Linked DNA regions of Homo sapiens: regions 1, 3, 4 and 5 are each linked to region 2. The links are contacts of gene promoters, found by promoter capture Hi-C in blood cells and fetal thymus (Javierre and others, 2016). All regions are on one chromosome and are shown on one strand. The core of a region is centred on a gene start or on the middle of the fragment in contact, and the rest is flanking DNA. Distances in the headings are between cores, read along the strand shown. Region 1 has its middle 1.9 kb from the start of ZNF131. Region 2 holds the start of CCL28 (C-C motif chemokine ligand 28). Region 3 overlaps LOC100506639 (a long non-coding RNA gene). Region 4 has its middle 20 kb from the start of ZNF131. Region 5 overlaps ZNF131 (zinc finger protein 131).

What was found. The method cuts DNA at HindIII sites, captures the fragments that hold promoters and counts their contacts. A CHiCAGO score of 5 or more calls a contact.
Region 1: a fragment that was not itself captured here is called in contact with the fragment with the promoter of CCL28 in region 2 in 3 of 17 cell types (erythroblasts, M1 macrophages and M2 macrophages); the score reaches 6.3 in erythroblasts.
Region 3: a fragment that was not itself captured here is called in contact with the fragment with the promoter of CCL28 in region 2 in 1 of 17 cell types (erythroblasts); the score reaches 5.2 in erythroblasts.
Region 4: a fragment that was not itself captured here is called in contact with the fragment with the promoter of CCL28 in region 2 in 3 of 17 cell types (erythroblasts, M1 macrophages and M2 macrophages); the score reaches 6.9 in erythroblasts.
Region 5: a fragment that was not itself captured here is called in contact with the fragment with the promoter of CCL28 in region 2 in 3 of 17 cell types (erythroblasts, M1 macrophages and megakaryocytes); the score reaches 9.3 in erythroblasts.

Annotation. Positions count from the first base shown.
Region 1 is chr5:43,117,695-43,120,394 of GRCh38, forward strand. No RefSeq gene overlaps it. Among named protein-coding and RNA genes, the nearest start is that of ZNF131, 1.9 kb to the right of the region's middle. The HindIII fragment of the contact is 6,749 bases long and covers 1-2,700 here.
Region 2 is chr5:43,410,968-43,413,667 of GRCh38, forward strand. CCL28 (C-C motif chemokine ligand 28) reads right to left here and starts at 1,424. Exons shown (of 3, transcript NM_148672.3): 1 at 1,286-1,424. The coding sequence starts at 1,349. The HindIII fragment of the contact is 1,630 bases long and covers 304-1,933 here.
Region 3 is chr5:43,076,289-43,078,988 of GRCh38, forward strand. All of the region lies in intron 2 of LOC100506639 (a long non-coding RNA gene), which reads left to right. Among named protein-coding and RNA genes, the nearest start is that of ANXA2R-OT1, 10 kb to the left of the region's middle. RefSeq lists an enhancer at 1,820-2,373. The HindIII fragment of the contact is 1,166 bases long and covers 680-1,845 here.
Region 4 is chr5:43,099,459-43,102,158 of GRCh38, forward strand. No RefSeq gene overlaps it. Among named protein-coding and RNA genes, the nearest start is that of ZNF131, 20 kb to the right of the region's middle. The HindIII fragment of the contact is 1,560 bases long and covers 499-2,058 here.
Region 5 is chr5:43,135,284-43,137,983 of GRCh38, forward strand. The region is part of intron 3 of ZNF131 (zinc finger protein 131); the gene reads left to right. Among named protein-coding and RNA genes, the nearest start is that of ZNF131, 16 kb to the left of the region's middle. The HindIII fragment of the contact is 853 bases long and covers 995-1,847 here.

The sequences.
Region 1 (2,700 bases), core at 185-2,684, 290 kb before region 2:
TTCCAGTTTTCCATCTTTCTTCAGCTGCAATACTCAGTCCTTTCAGCTTCTTCCTTTTCTACTCAATCCATAAACATTGATACTTTTTAGATAAAAAGTCCTACACTCTCTTCCATTCTCCCATTTGGGACTAGGAGTCCCAAACTCAAATGCTTTCAGGGACTAAGCAAATAAGGAAAATGAATGATAGCTGAGTCTAAAACATTAGAAATTGGTGGGGATTATAGGGAACTGGACAGCTCAAATCCTATGTAGAAAAGGGTTCTCCATTTGGTTAAATTCAATTGCTGTAAAAGAAGAGCGGTCCTATATACTGGAATTTCCAAAAAGCCTATTTTTGTGTCCAATTTCTTCATCTTAAGAAATACCGTGGCCAGGCACGGTGGCTCATGCCTGTAATCCCAGCCCTTTGAGAGGCGGAGGCAGGCGATCACCTGAGGTCAGAAGTTCGAGACCAGGCTGGCCAACATGGCAAAACTCTATCTCTACTACAAATACAAAAAATTAGCCAGGCATGGTGGCAGGCTGTGTGAATAATAACAATTATGATAATATTTAATTTAATTTATGTGTTATTTTATATTTATTTTTTTTTTGAGGCAGAGTCTTGCTCTGTCACCCAGGCTGGAGTGCAGTGGCACGATCTCGGCTCACGCCATTCTTCTGCCTCAGCCTTCCCAGTAGCTGGAACCACAGGTGCCCGCCACCATGCCCGGCTAATTTTTTTGTATTTTTAGTGGAGACGGGGTTTCACCGTGTTAGCAAGGATGGTCTCGATCTCCTGACCTCGTGATCTGTCCGCCTCAGCCACCCAAAGTGCTGGGATTACAGGCGTGAGCCACTGCGCCCAGCGTATTTTTTTTTTTTTTTTTTTTTGAGACAGACTCTCGCTCTGTTGCTCAGGCTGGAGTGCAGTGGCACGGTCCCAGCTCACTGCAACCTCCGCCTCCCGAGTTCAAGCGATTCTCTTGCCTCAGCCTCCCGAGTAGCTGGGATTACAGGCGCATGCCACCATGCCCGGCTAATTTTTGTATTTTTAGTAAAGACAGGGTTTCACCGTGTTGGTCAGGCTGGTCTCAAACTCCTGACCTCATGATCCACCCACCTCGGCCTCCCAAAGTGCTGGGATTACAGGCATGAGCCACCAGCTGATGATAATATTTTAAAACACCAATTCAATCTACAAGCAGCTAGCCTATCACTCCTGCAGACTCTCTTTAAACAATCCCATCTATTCTTAACACTTCAATATTCCTTTTATGCTGTAAACTTGCAAATCTCTATCTCTACGGTTAGTCTTCTTCCCTAAACTATATGTAGGCCCATATATCCAAGGGCCTCTAACATTATCTCCTTATAATAACACCTCTGGTTCCATCCTCTCTCCCCATCCAGCTCCGCCAGTTGTATTTCCTATTTTGGTAGATGGTGCCAACAATCTACTGGCTCAAGCCAGAAATCCAGGAGCCATCTTTGACTATTCTTTCTCCCTTGTCACCAATATATCCAGCAATATTTATTTAGTATCTATGGCATGCTTTACAGCCAATGTTGGTTCTATCTCTAGATTTTTTTTTTTTTTTTTGAGACAGGGTCTCACTCTGTTGCCCAGGCTGGAGTGAAGTGGCACCATCTTAGCTCACTGCAGCCTCAACCTCCCTGAGCTCAAGTGATCCTCCCACCCCAGTCTTCCAAGTAGCTGAAACAATAGGTGCACACCATCACTAATTTTTTTGTATTTTGTAGAGACGATGTTTCACCATGTCACCCAGGCTGGTCTTGAACACCTGGGTTCCAGCGATCCTCCCCGACTGGGCCTCCCAAAGTGATGGGATTACAGGCCTGAACCACTGCGCCCAGCCTATCTCTAGATTCTGACCAGCTCTCTAATTCCATTTTCCCCCATGGTTTCATCTACATTACTAACAGTCTCCCAGTTGATCTCTATTCCTAGCAGCTTGTCCCATTTAATCTGTTCTCCATATTGGGGCTAGAATTATCTCTTTAAAAAGTACATCTTAGGATGTCACCATGCGGCAAGGCTTCCCCTTGCAAAAAGAAAATCTGACATCTTCAACACTTTTTATAAGGCACCCTTGTGCGTCTATCCAGCAACATTGTTTCAGTTTCCTGAATGCTATAATCTTGGTGCCTTTGCATGTGCTATACTTTTGGCTAAGAACACTTAGACTTCACATCACTTAAAAACATTTTTTGTTTTAATACAGATGGGGTCTCGCTATGTGCCCAGGCTGGCCTCAAACTCCTGGGCTGAACTCCTCCTCCCCAACTCGGCCTCCCAAAGTGCTGGGATTACAAGCGTGAGCCACCGCGCCCGCCCACATCTCTTCTTACAGGTCAACTGGCTTTCCTTGACACCCAGTTACTTCGTTCTTCAGGTGTTGCAAAACTCATCAGCAAGCACCTAGGCAATTACTGTTCAAAATATCTATGCAGTCTACTAGACTTAAGATTCAGAAAGGCAGAAACCACATATACCTTGTTCACAGCTGGACTTCTCAGTGTCTAGTACTAGGATTCTCAATACATATCTGTTGAAGTTATGATGACATTATTACCATATAGCTATTTGAGTTCCTCCGTAATCCCAATTCTCAAGTTCTTTGAGAGAAAAAAATAAGTAAATCTCAATTATAGAATTATCCTCAAAATGTATTTATATATAATATTTCTTTGGAG
Region 2 (2,700 bases), core at 174-2,673:
CCCAGTACATTGACGGACTATATTGGGAGTCCCTAAGCAAATGCCTGCAGGGACCAGGCAGTTAATACAGCAAACTTCAGAGGCTCATCTGCTTTAGCCAGTTCTTGCCATGGTATGGTGGAATCATTGTTGCCACATCTGATTTCTCAAGAGAAGCTTTAAAATCCAATTTGTATGTGTGTATGTATGAGTATGTACATGAGAAAGCTTTCAGTTTTAAAATGTTGGCTCAGATTTTTAAAAAGCAGACCAAAGACTTATATTCCACCTCTGCTCTAGACTTAGAGAATCTGTTCAGGATAAAGCTTAAAGAAAAGATGACAATGGAAAAGAGTCATTGGTCAAGTATTAAGTACTGACACTTAGGGTTTCCTGAATATAGTAGTGAGTGCTACTTTAGAAGAGATTCCCTCTAGTTCAAATGCAGTTACAATCTCCAAATACATGCTAGCAACTCACGATTTAAATTCTCTTTGACATAATTTGTATGGTTCAATCTCCCTCATCCTGCTTTTCTTCTTTTTCTTTCTTTCCTTTCCTTTCTTCCTTTCCTTCTCTTTCCCCTCCCCTCCCCTCTTTTTGTTTTTAACAGATGGGGTTTTACTATGTTGCCCAAGCTGGAGTGCAGTGGCAATTCAGAGTGCAGTGGCAATTCACAGTGTGATCATAGCTCACTGCAATCTTGAATTCCTGGCCTGAAGCTATCCTCCAGCCGTAGCCTCCCAAGTAGGTGGGAATACAGGCATGCACCACTGTGCTCAGCTCTGCCCTCCCTTTTTAAAGGTCAGACTGAAGTTTCAGTTTTCTGTATCCATAGAGCTGACTTTGCTCAGGAAATTTACAACTTACCTAATTTGAACGCAGCTGGCCAAGTCTGTATTTCCCTCCAGGAATGTGCACAGTTGTGTTCAGACCGTTTAGCAGGTTGGGGTGTGGAGGAAGACAGATGAATAGTAGGGGCTTTACTCCAGCCTCTAGCTGGGGATTTTCTAAGATACTGTCTTCAGAAAAGGAAACATAGCTCGAAGTTGTACCTACATGGAAGGACCTCATCCTCCAGGTGGCAAAAATTTGTAGTATGCCTGTTAGAATGAGGTTCCTTCCTGAAACTTCTGGGAGATCTAGAATTTAAAGCTATGTCATTCTCTTGTAGGTAATCAGAAATCAATTGGAAATTCCTGCTTGAAGAGATAGATATTCTTGCCCCACCTCAATCCTTCCAGCACAGATTTGGGAGATACCCCCCTTTCCAGTGAAGGCCTAAGTGTCCAGTGCCCCCACTCACCTTCTGAGGCATGTAGGGCCGCACAGACAGCCAAGGCCACGATGGCGAGTCCTCTCTGCTGCATTCCTGCCTGCCCTACTGGCACTGACAGCAACACAAGTGAGGCTGTTCGATCAGGAAATGAGGCTAAAGGTGTCCTTGGGCACAGAGAAAGTGCAGAGGAAAAGTAAGCCAGGTGGCCCCGCCCTGGGAGGTGTTCAGGGTATCTATTTCTCATGTTTCTTTCCTTAAGACCAGGCTCCTCCTCGACTTATTAAGCTCCTAACTTGTGTTCATCCTGCCTGGGGGTCAGGGGATGTCAATGGAGATCTGGCAGCTGGCAGGGTCACTGTGAGGTGGGGTGTGCATCAGAATCATTTGGGGAACATTAAAAAAAATCAATCTAAATGACTCTCCCCTTTCCCTGATTTGTAAACCAGAACTCCCAGGTAGGAGACCAGTCATTTGAATTTTGTAAAAGCTCTATAGGTGATTCTGATGGACACTTATGTTGAGACCCATTGCATAATCAGTTTTTAAGTAGCTTATGGAAACCATGAGTTTCTGGGGACAAGGGTGACAAGTCATAAAAAATGTATCTTTGTGGAAAGATATGGAAGTATTAAACCCCACTTTAGTCTTGGTTCACAGCCAAATTGTTTCCAGTGAAGCTTTTTACAATAGCTTATTTAGGAGAAAGACAGGAAGGGGGGCAATGCCTTGTAGAAAAGAGCCCAAGAGCAGGTGTGAAGAGGCATGAGCGCTAGTGCAGCTTTGCTGCCAATCAGCTTTGTGAATAAAAGCATGGGGTAGCATGAAGATAATTGGATTCTAATTGTTCCTCATCTACTAATAAGTTGTATAACCTCAGGCAACGTACTTAACTTTGCTGTAAATAACAAGTCAGACTAGATGACCTCCAAAGTCATGCCATGCTTCCTCTAGAACTGTGTTGTCCTATGTGGTAGCCGCTAGCCCACATGTGGCTCTTGAGCACTTGAAATATGAGTAGTCCAAACTCAGATGTACTATGGGTATAAAATTCACACTGGATTTCAAAGACTGGGTACAGAAAAAAATATAAAATATCTTGTTAATAATGTTTATACTGTTTATTGATTACATGATAGTATTTTGGACTTTTTGGGTTAAATAAAATATATTATTAAAATTAATTTCACCCATTTCTTTTTATGTTTTCAAATTACTGCTGTGGTTTGAATATTTTTTTCTTCTCCAAAGCTCATGTTGAAAATTAATCCCTAATAGTGCTGGGAGATAGGGCCTAATGGACAATGTTTAGGTTATGATGGCTCCACCCTCATGAATGGATGAATGCTACTATAAAAAGGGCTTGTGGGAATGGGTTGGTACCTTCTGCTCTTCTGCCAGGTGAGTACACAATGCTCCTTCTCTCCAAAAGATGCAGCAAAGTG
Region 3 (2,700 bases), core at 13-2,512, 330 kb before region 2:
CATGAAAAAGTTGCAGATGGTAGGCCGCAGTGAACTCCAATTGTTTGGAAGGCTTAACTTGAACCTTCCTAGGCTAGAGAATTTTAAATGACTGAGATGTTTCTAATGTGCCTAGAGCTTCTTTTCTAATGAGCCCAGGGAGGGCTAGAATCTCTATCAGAGTTAGTCTGGGATGTAAAGGGGATCAGGATGTGCCACCCCAATATATGCCACTTTAGCCTATGGATTATTTTGAGCAGTTAAAAAATTAGAAATAGCAGGCCTGGTGCAGTGGCTCATGCCTGTAATCTTAGCACTTTGGGAGACCGAGGCAGGTGGATCACCTGAAGTCAAGAGTTCGAGACCAGCCTGGCCAACATGGTGAAACCCCATCTCTACTAAAAAAAAAAAAAAAAAAAAAATACAAAAATTAGCCAGGCGTGGTGTGGCACGCCTGTAATACCAGCTACTCAGGAGGCTGAGGAAGGAGAATTGCTTGAAGCCAGGAGGTAGAGGTTGCAATGAGCCAAGATCGTACCACTGCACTCCAGCCTGCGTGATGGGAGCGAGACTCCATCTCAAAAAAAAAAGAGAAAAAAAGAAATTAGAAATAGCAGACATATGAGGATCTCTGACCTCCCTTTCCTGCTGAAAAGCAGGGCATACATTTTGCTTTTGTAAAAAAATTTGCATTTATAAAAGCTTCCACCTCTCCCCTACCTGGAAGAGAAGGAAACTCTTCTACTCTAATACTTGAAGGGGGCCTGCCTCTCCACACCTGTGGGTATTTCTTGCAAGGTGGAGACGAGACACTGAGAAAAGAAATAAGACACAGAGACAGTATAGAGGAAGAAAAGTGGGCCAAGGGGACTGGTGCTCAGCAAGTGAGGACCTGCACCAGCATTGGTCTCTGAGTTCCCTCAGTATTTATTGATCACTATCTCTACTATCTTGGCGAGGGGGATGTGGCAGGACTATAGGGTAATGGTGGCCAGAGGGTCAGCAGGAAAACATGTGAGCAAAGGACTCTGTGTCATAAATAAGTTTAAGGAAAGGTGCTGTGCCTGGATGTGCACATAGGCCAGATTTATGTTTGACTTTACACAGACATCTCAGTGCAGTAAAGAGCAGTATTGCCGCCAGCAGGTCTCACTTCCAGCCATAAGGCAGTTTTCTCCTATCTCAGTAAATAGAATATATGATCAGGTTTTACACTGAGACATTCCATTCCCAGGGACAAGCAGGAGACAGATGCCTTCCTCTTGTCTCAGCTGCAAAGAGGCCTTCCTCTTTCACTAATCCTCCTCAGCACGGACCCTTTATGGGTGTCGGGCTGGGGGATGGAGGTCTTTCCTTTCCTACAAGGCCATATCTCAGGCTATCTCAGTGGCGGGAAACCTTAGACAATACCCAGGCTTTCTTGGGCAGAGGTCCCTGTGGCCTTCCACAGTGCATTGTGTCCCTGGGTACTTGAGATTGGAGAATGGTGATGACTTTTACCAAGCATACTGCCTGCAAACATTTTTACCAAGGCACATCCTGCACAGCCCTAAATCCATTAAATCTTGAGTCAATATAGCACATGTTTCTGCGAGCACAGGGTTGGGGCTAGGGTTACAGATTAACAGCATCTCAAGGCAGAAGAATTTTTCTTAGTACAGATCAAAATGGAGTTTCTTATGTCTTCCTTTTTCTACATAGACACAGTAACAGTCTGATCTCTCTTTCTTTCCCCCACAATGCTTGTTTGAGGACATGTATTATCACCAGAGAGGACTTGAAACTGCATAACAAACCGTACTTGCCAGACATTTCCTAATCACCTTCTCACTGTTTACTCCCTCCCCCTATAATCGATAATCGCAAAGCTTCCTTTCCCTTTGACTATTCTATTCTCTTCACAATTTATCACCCCTTGTTAAATGGTATATAAGCCCCCAGCCCTAAACTCCTACTTGGGTTTTCACTTCTCTTTTGTGAAGCCTCATTATGTATGCAAAATAAAATTTTTCTACTGTTAATCTGTCGTTTATCAGTTTAAGTGACAGGCTGGGGCTGGGCGCCGTGGCTCACGCCTGTAATCCCAGCACTTTCGGGAGGCCGAGGTGGCCGGATCACGAGGTCAGGAGATCGAGACCATCCTGGCTAACACAGTGAAACCCCGTCTCTACTAAAAAATACAAAAAATTAGACGGGCGTGGGCCGGTCGCGGTGGCTCCCGGCTGTAATCCTAGCACTTTGGGAGGCCGAGGCGGGCGGATCACGAGGTCAGGAGATGGAGACCATCCTGGCTAACACGGTGAAACCCCGTCTCTACTAAAAATACAGAAAATTAGCCGGACGAGGTGGCGGGCCCTGTAGTCCCAGCTACTCGGGAGGCTGAGGCAAGAGAATGGCGTGAACCCCAGGGGGCGGAGCCTGCAGTGAGCCGAGATTGCGCCCCACTGCACTCCAGCCTGGGCAACAGCGAGACTACGTCTCAAAAAAAAAAAAAAAAAAAATTAGCCGGGTGTGGTGGCGGGCGCCTGTAGTCTCAGCTACTCGGCAGGCTGAGGCAGGAGAATGGCGTGAACCCCGGAGGCAGAGCTTGCAGTGAGCCAAGATTGTGCCACTGCACTCCAGCCTGGGCGACAGAGCAAGGCTCTGTCTCAAAAAAAAAAAAAAAAGTGACAGGCTCTACACACTGAATTTAAGAAGGTAGAGGTCGGGTTTTTTCATCAT
Region 4 (2,700 bases), core at 29-2,528, 310 kb before region 2:
CTTGAACCCGAGAGGCAGAGGCGGCAGTGAGCCGAGAACGCGCCATTGCACTCTAGCCCGGGCGACAAGAGTGAAACTCCATCTCAAAAACAAAAACAAAAAGAAAAACAAACAAACAAACAAACAAAAAAACAGTAGAAAACCTAATGAGAAACCATGGCACAGGAAAACAGAATAGCAGAACGGTCAGAGGAAGCATAGCACTAGAAGTTTACCTATTTGAAAGATTTATGAGACACTTAAGACAGAAGAGCTCTGCCTGTCTGGTTAAAATGGTGGGACAGACAAGATTTATTTGAGCTCAGCAGCACTTGAAGTCCACTGGAGAGGTGTAGAGCAGCTAGCCCATGTTATGGTTGCAATGGAAAAAAGTCAATAGGGTGAGAATCAAGAATGGATCCATCTTGTGGATGATGACATCATTCAGCAACAAGGTACAATTGCTACAATAGAGGATCATATTTCCAAGCCAGGTCCAAAGAGGCATCAGGGCTGTCAAGCTTAGGTATAAATGTTGACAGAATCTTCCTTTGGATTACCTAAGGCTCTGAATTTCTGGGAAGATCTTGATGCCCTCTAACCCCAGCAAATTGATGCTAGCTATACATTGAATCTGACAGTGGCAGCTCAAACAGATTTTAAACACATCTTGTATGTATCCATTCATACACATTTACATATTAAAAACATGTCTTCAAGTTTGAGCTTTCTTGGTGTATCTCAGGTACCTTTTGACATGGTTCTCTTTTTATTGTATGTACTAATAGAGTGAGAACCTACTTATTACTTGGGGGCTGCACCAAGCCATTCATGATAGCTCGACCCCCATGACCCAAACACCTCCCTTTAGGTCCCACTTCCAATATTATCAAAATCTTTTTTATTTTATTTATTTATTTATTTATTTATTTATTTTTTGAGATGGAGTCTTACTCTGTTGCCCAGGCTGGAGTGCAGTGGCGCGATCTTGGCTCACTGCAAGCTCCACCTCCTGGGTTCATGCCATTCTCCCGCCTCAGCCTCCCAAGTAGCTGGGACTACAGGTGCCCGCCACCACGCCTGGGTAATTTTGTGTGTGTGTGTGTGTGTGTGTGTGTATTTTTAGTAGGGACGAGGTTTCACTGTGTTAGCCAAGATGGTCTTGATCTCCTGACCTTGTGATCCGCCCGCCTCAGCCTCCCAAAGTGCTGGGATTACAGGTGTGAGCCACCGCGCCTGGCCTTTTTTATTTTTATCAAGACAGGGGTCTCTCTGTGTTGCCCAGGCTGGTCTTGAACTCCTGGCCACAAGCTATCCTCCCACCTTGGCTTCCCAAAGTGCTGGGATTACAGGTGTAAGCCACTGCTCTGTCCCGAACCAAATTTCAACATGAGATTTGGAGGGGGACAAATATTCAAACAATATCATTGAGATTAAAAATTATTAGAGAAGTTTCAGGGTTAGAGCCATGCTTCAGTTTAATCCTCAGTATAAGAATTATGTAGAACTAAGACAAAATGATGAGGAAAAGATTGCTAGAATAATAAGGAATTGTTATATATCATGGAAATATTGACACAAAACTATCAAAAATAATTGAGGGCCGGGTGTGGAGGCTCATGCCTGTAATCCCAGTACTTTAGGAGGCCGAGGCAGGTGGATCACAAGGTCAGCAGATTGAGACCATCCTGGCTAACACGGTGAAACCCCGTCTCTACTAAAAATACAAAAAATTAGCTGGGTGTGGTGGCAGGCACCTGTAGTCCCAGCTACTCAGGAGGCTGAGGCAGGAGAATGGTGTGAACCTTGGAGGTGGAGCTTGCAGTGAGCCGAGATGGCGCCACTGCAGTCTAGCCTGGGTGACAGAGCAAGACTCTGTCTCAAAATAAATAAATAAAAAATAATAATTATTGAAGCTGGACGTGGTGGATCATGCCTGTAATCCCAACACTTTGGGAAACCAAGGCAAATCTTTGGTTTCTGATGACCCAGAAGTGTAAAAGTACAAAACTGGAAGACTATTGCATCCTTCTCCTCACTCTCAGCACAGATGTATTGTTTCACCATCTAGGAGCTTGAAGCTTTGAAGGACTGTAAGTTTATCTGCATGCAAGAGCAGAGATCCCAGGTTACTGCCTGCCTGCACAGGACAGAAGTCTGGACAGCTTCCATGTGCTGAGTGATACTCAGAGAACACCCAGTTTTGCTAAGATGGGAACTACTCTGTGTGCAGGGAAATGACTGGGACTCAGAGACTTTCTCATTGCCATGAGCATTTTGGAAGGCTGTCCAGACAGGCCTGTCTGTGGACAGATGTCCCAGTTTCAAGTGCCTTCAAGGGAAGTGAGTGCTACAAACAATGTGGCTGAGTGAGACTAAGAAAAGCCAGAAGACACAAGAGCTGACAGACATGAGAGACTAGGGTCATGTTGTCCATATGGACAGGGATCCTGGAACTCTGCCCTTCTCTAAAGGCTTTTCTTTCCTACTTAACATCCTGCCCTCTCAGCACTGGTGCTATAGCCACCAGCCTGCCCAATGCTGAGTTCTTCTTACTGCACATGCCACCTCTTGGATATCTTTCAAATCATGTATCCCATTTTATTTCCAAGGGCTTAATCATTTTGGAATTTGCAGTTGCACTCTAACTTATTTTTTCCCAATCCTTTATTGAAAAGCACATTTGAGCCAGGCGCAGTGGCTCACACCTGTAATCCCAGC
Region 5 (2,700 bases), core at 171-2,670, 280 kb before region 2:
TGCGCCCGGCCATCAATTGCATTTTTATACACTAACAATGAACTATCTGGAAAGGAAATTAGGAGAACAATCCCATTTATATTGACACCATAAAGAATAAAGTAACTGGGAATAGGCTTAACCTTTCACCTCCTTAGGTGAGAGACATGCAATACTGAGAACCATAAAACATTAAAGAAATTGGGCTGGGCACAGTGGCTCACGCCTGTAATCCCAGCACTTTGGGAGGCGGAGGCGGGTGGATTGCTTGAGGTCAGGAGTTCAAGACCAGCCTGAACAACATGGTGAAACCCTGTCTCTTCCGGAAAAAAATACAAAAATTAGCTGGTTATGGTGGCCCATTCCTGTAGTCCCAGCTATTCGGGAGGCTGAGGTTGCAGTGAGCATGGATTGCACCACTGCACTCGAGCCTGGGCGACAGAGCGAGACTCCGTCTCAAAAAAGAAAAAAGAAACTAAAGACACTCAATAGATCTTCATGGATTTGGAACACTCAGTATTGTTAAATTGTCCATACAGATTGAGCATCTCAAATTTGAAAATCTGAACTGCTTGCCAGGTGCAGTGGCTCACGCCTATAGTCCCAGCACTTTGGGAGGCCGAGGCGGGCATATCACAATTTCAGGAGTTCAAGACCAGCTGGCCAACGTAGTGAAACCCTGTCTCTACTAAAAATATAAAAATTAGGTGGGTATGGTGGTGCGTGCCTGTAGTCCCAGCTACTTGGGAGGCTGAGGAAGGAGAATCGCTTGAACCCGGGAGGTGGTGGTTGCGGTGAGCCGAGCCTCTGTACTCCAGCTCGGGCAACAGAGTGAGACTTGGTCTCGAAGAAGAAAAAATGAACTGCTATAAAATTTGAAACTTTCTGAGCATCAACATGACTCAACGGAAATGCTTGTTGGAGCATTTTGGATTTCGGATTTTCAGATTTGGGATGCTCAACCTGTGTCAAGTATAATGCAAATATTTCAAAATCCAAAACAGTTGTGATCCCAAGCTTTTCATATGAGGGATATTCAGCCTGTATTACAGAAAGTGGGCTACAGATTCAATACAGTCCCTCTCAAAATCCTGATGGAATTTTTTTTGTTTTATGGAAACAGGAAAAGCAGTTCTAAAATTCATATGGAACCACAGAAAATCATGGACTAGCCAAATCAATCTTGAAAAAGAACAAAGCTAGAGGCATCATACTTTTTTTTTTTTTTTTTTTTTTTTTTTTTTGAGGTAGTCTTACTGTGTTGCCCAGGCTGAAGTGCAGTGGTGTAATCTTGGCCCACTGCAGCCTTAGCCTCCCAAGTAGCTGGGATTACAGGTGCGTGCCACCACCCCCATCTAATTTTTTTCTTTTTTTCTTTTTTCTTTTTCTTTTTTTTTTTTTTTTAGTAGAGACGGAGTTTCACCATATCGACCAGGCTGATCTCGAACTCCTGACCTCAGGTGATCCACCAGCCTTGGCCTCCCAAGGTGCTGGGATTACAGGCATGAGCCACTGCACCCAGCTGACATGATACTTCTTGATATCAAAATATTTTACAGAGCTACAATAACCAAAACAGTATGGGACTAGCTTAAAGAGACATACAGACCAAAGGAGCAGAATAGAGAGCCCACAAATAAAAACATGCAAATAATATGGTCAACTGATCTTCAGGGATGCCAAGAATGCACAATAAGGAAGGAATGTTTTCTGCAACAAATGATGTTGGAAGAACTAGGTATTCACATGAAAAAAGATGAAATTGGACCCCTATCTTCTACCATAAAAAAGAAAAAAACTCAAAATGAATTGGAGACTTAGACATAAGACCAAAAAATGTAAATCTCCTGGAAGAAAACATGAGGGGAAGCTTCACCACATCATTCTTAGTAATTTCGTGGATGTGACGTCAAAAGCACAGCCAACAACAGAAAATAAGACAGGTGGGACTACATCAAACTAAAAAGCTTCTGTACAGCAAAGGAAACAACTGAGTGAAAAGGAAATCTAAGGAATGGGAGAAAGTATTTGCAGAACCAAATAAATGATAAGGAATGAATCCCAAAAATATATGAGAAACTCCCACAACTGATAGTAAAAAATATCTGCCCAATTAAAAACAGTCTAAATGATGCAGAAAAAAATTAAATTAAAAATGTTTTTTTAAATGTGCTAAGAACTTGAATAGACATTTCTCCAAACAGATGGCCAACAGATACATGAAAAAAAAGTTCAGTGTCACTAGGCATCAAGGAAATGCAAATCAAAACCACTATGAGGTATCAGTCACTTCACACCTTTCAGGATGGCTATCAAAAAAAAAAAGACAACTAGTATTGGTGAGGATATAAATAAATTGGAATCCTTGCACAATGTTGGCAGGAATAGGTGCAGCCATTATGGAAAACAGTATGAATGTTCCTTAAAAAATTAAAATACCATACAATTCAGCAATCCCACTTGCTGAACATTTATCCAAAAGAACTGAAATCAGGATCTTGAAGTTTTAGCACTCCTATGTTCATTGCAGCACTATTTACAGTAGCCACGAGAGGAAATAAATATTCGTCAACAGATTAATGGATAAAGAAAATGTAGTATATGTATCCAATGGAATACTATTCAGCTCTTAAGAACAAGGATATTCTGCATATGCAACCACATGGATGAACCTTGAGGACATTATGCTAAGTGAAGTAAGCCAGTCACAGACATAAACTG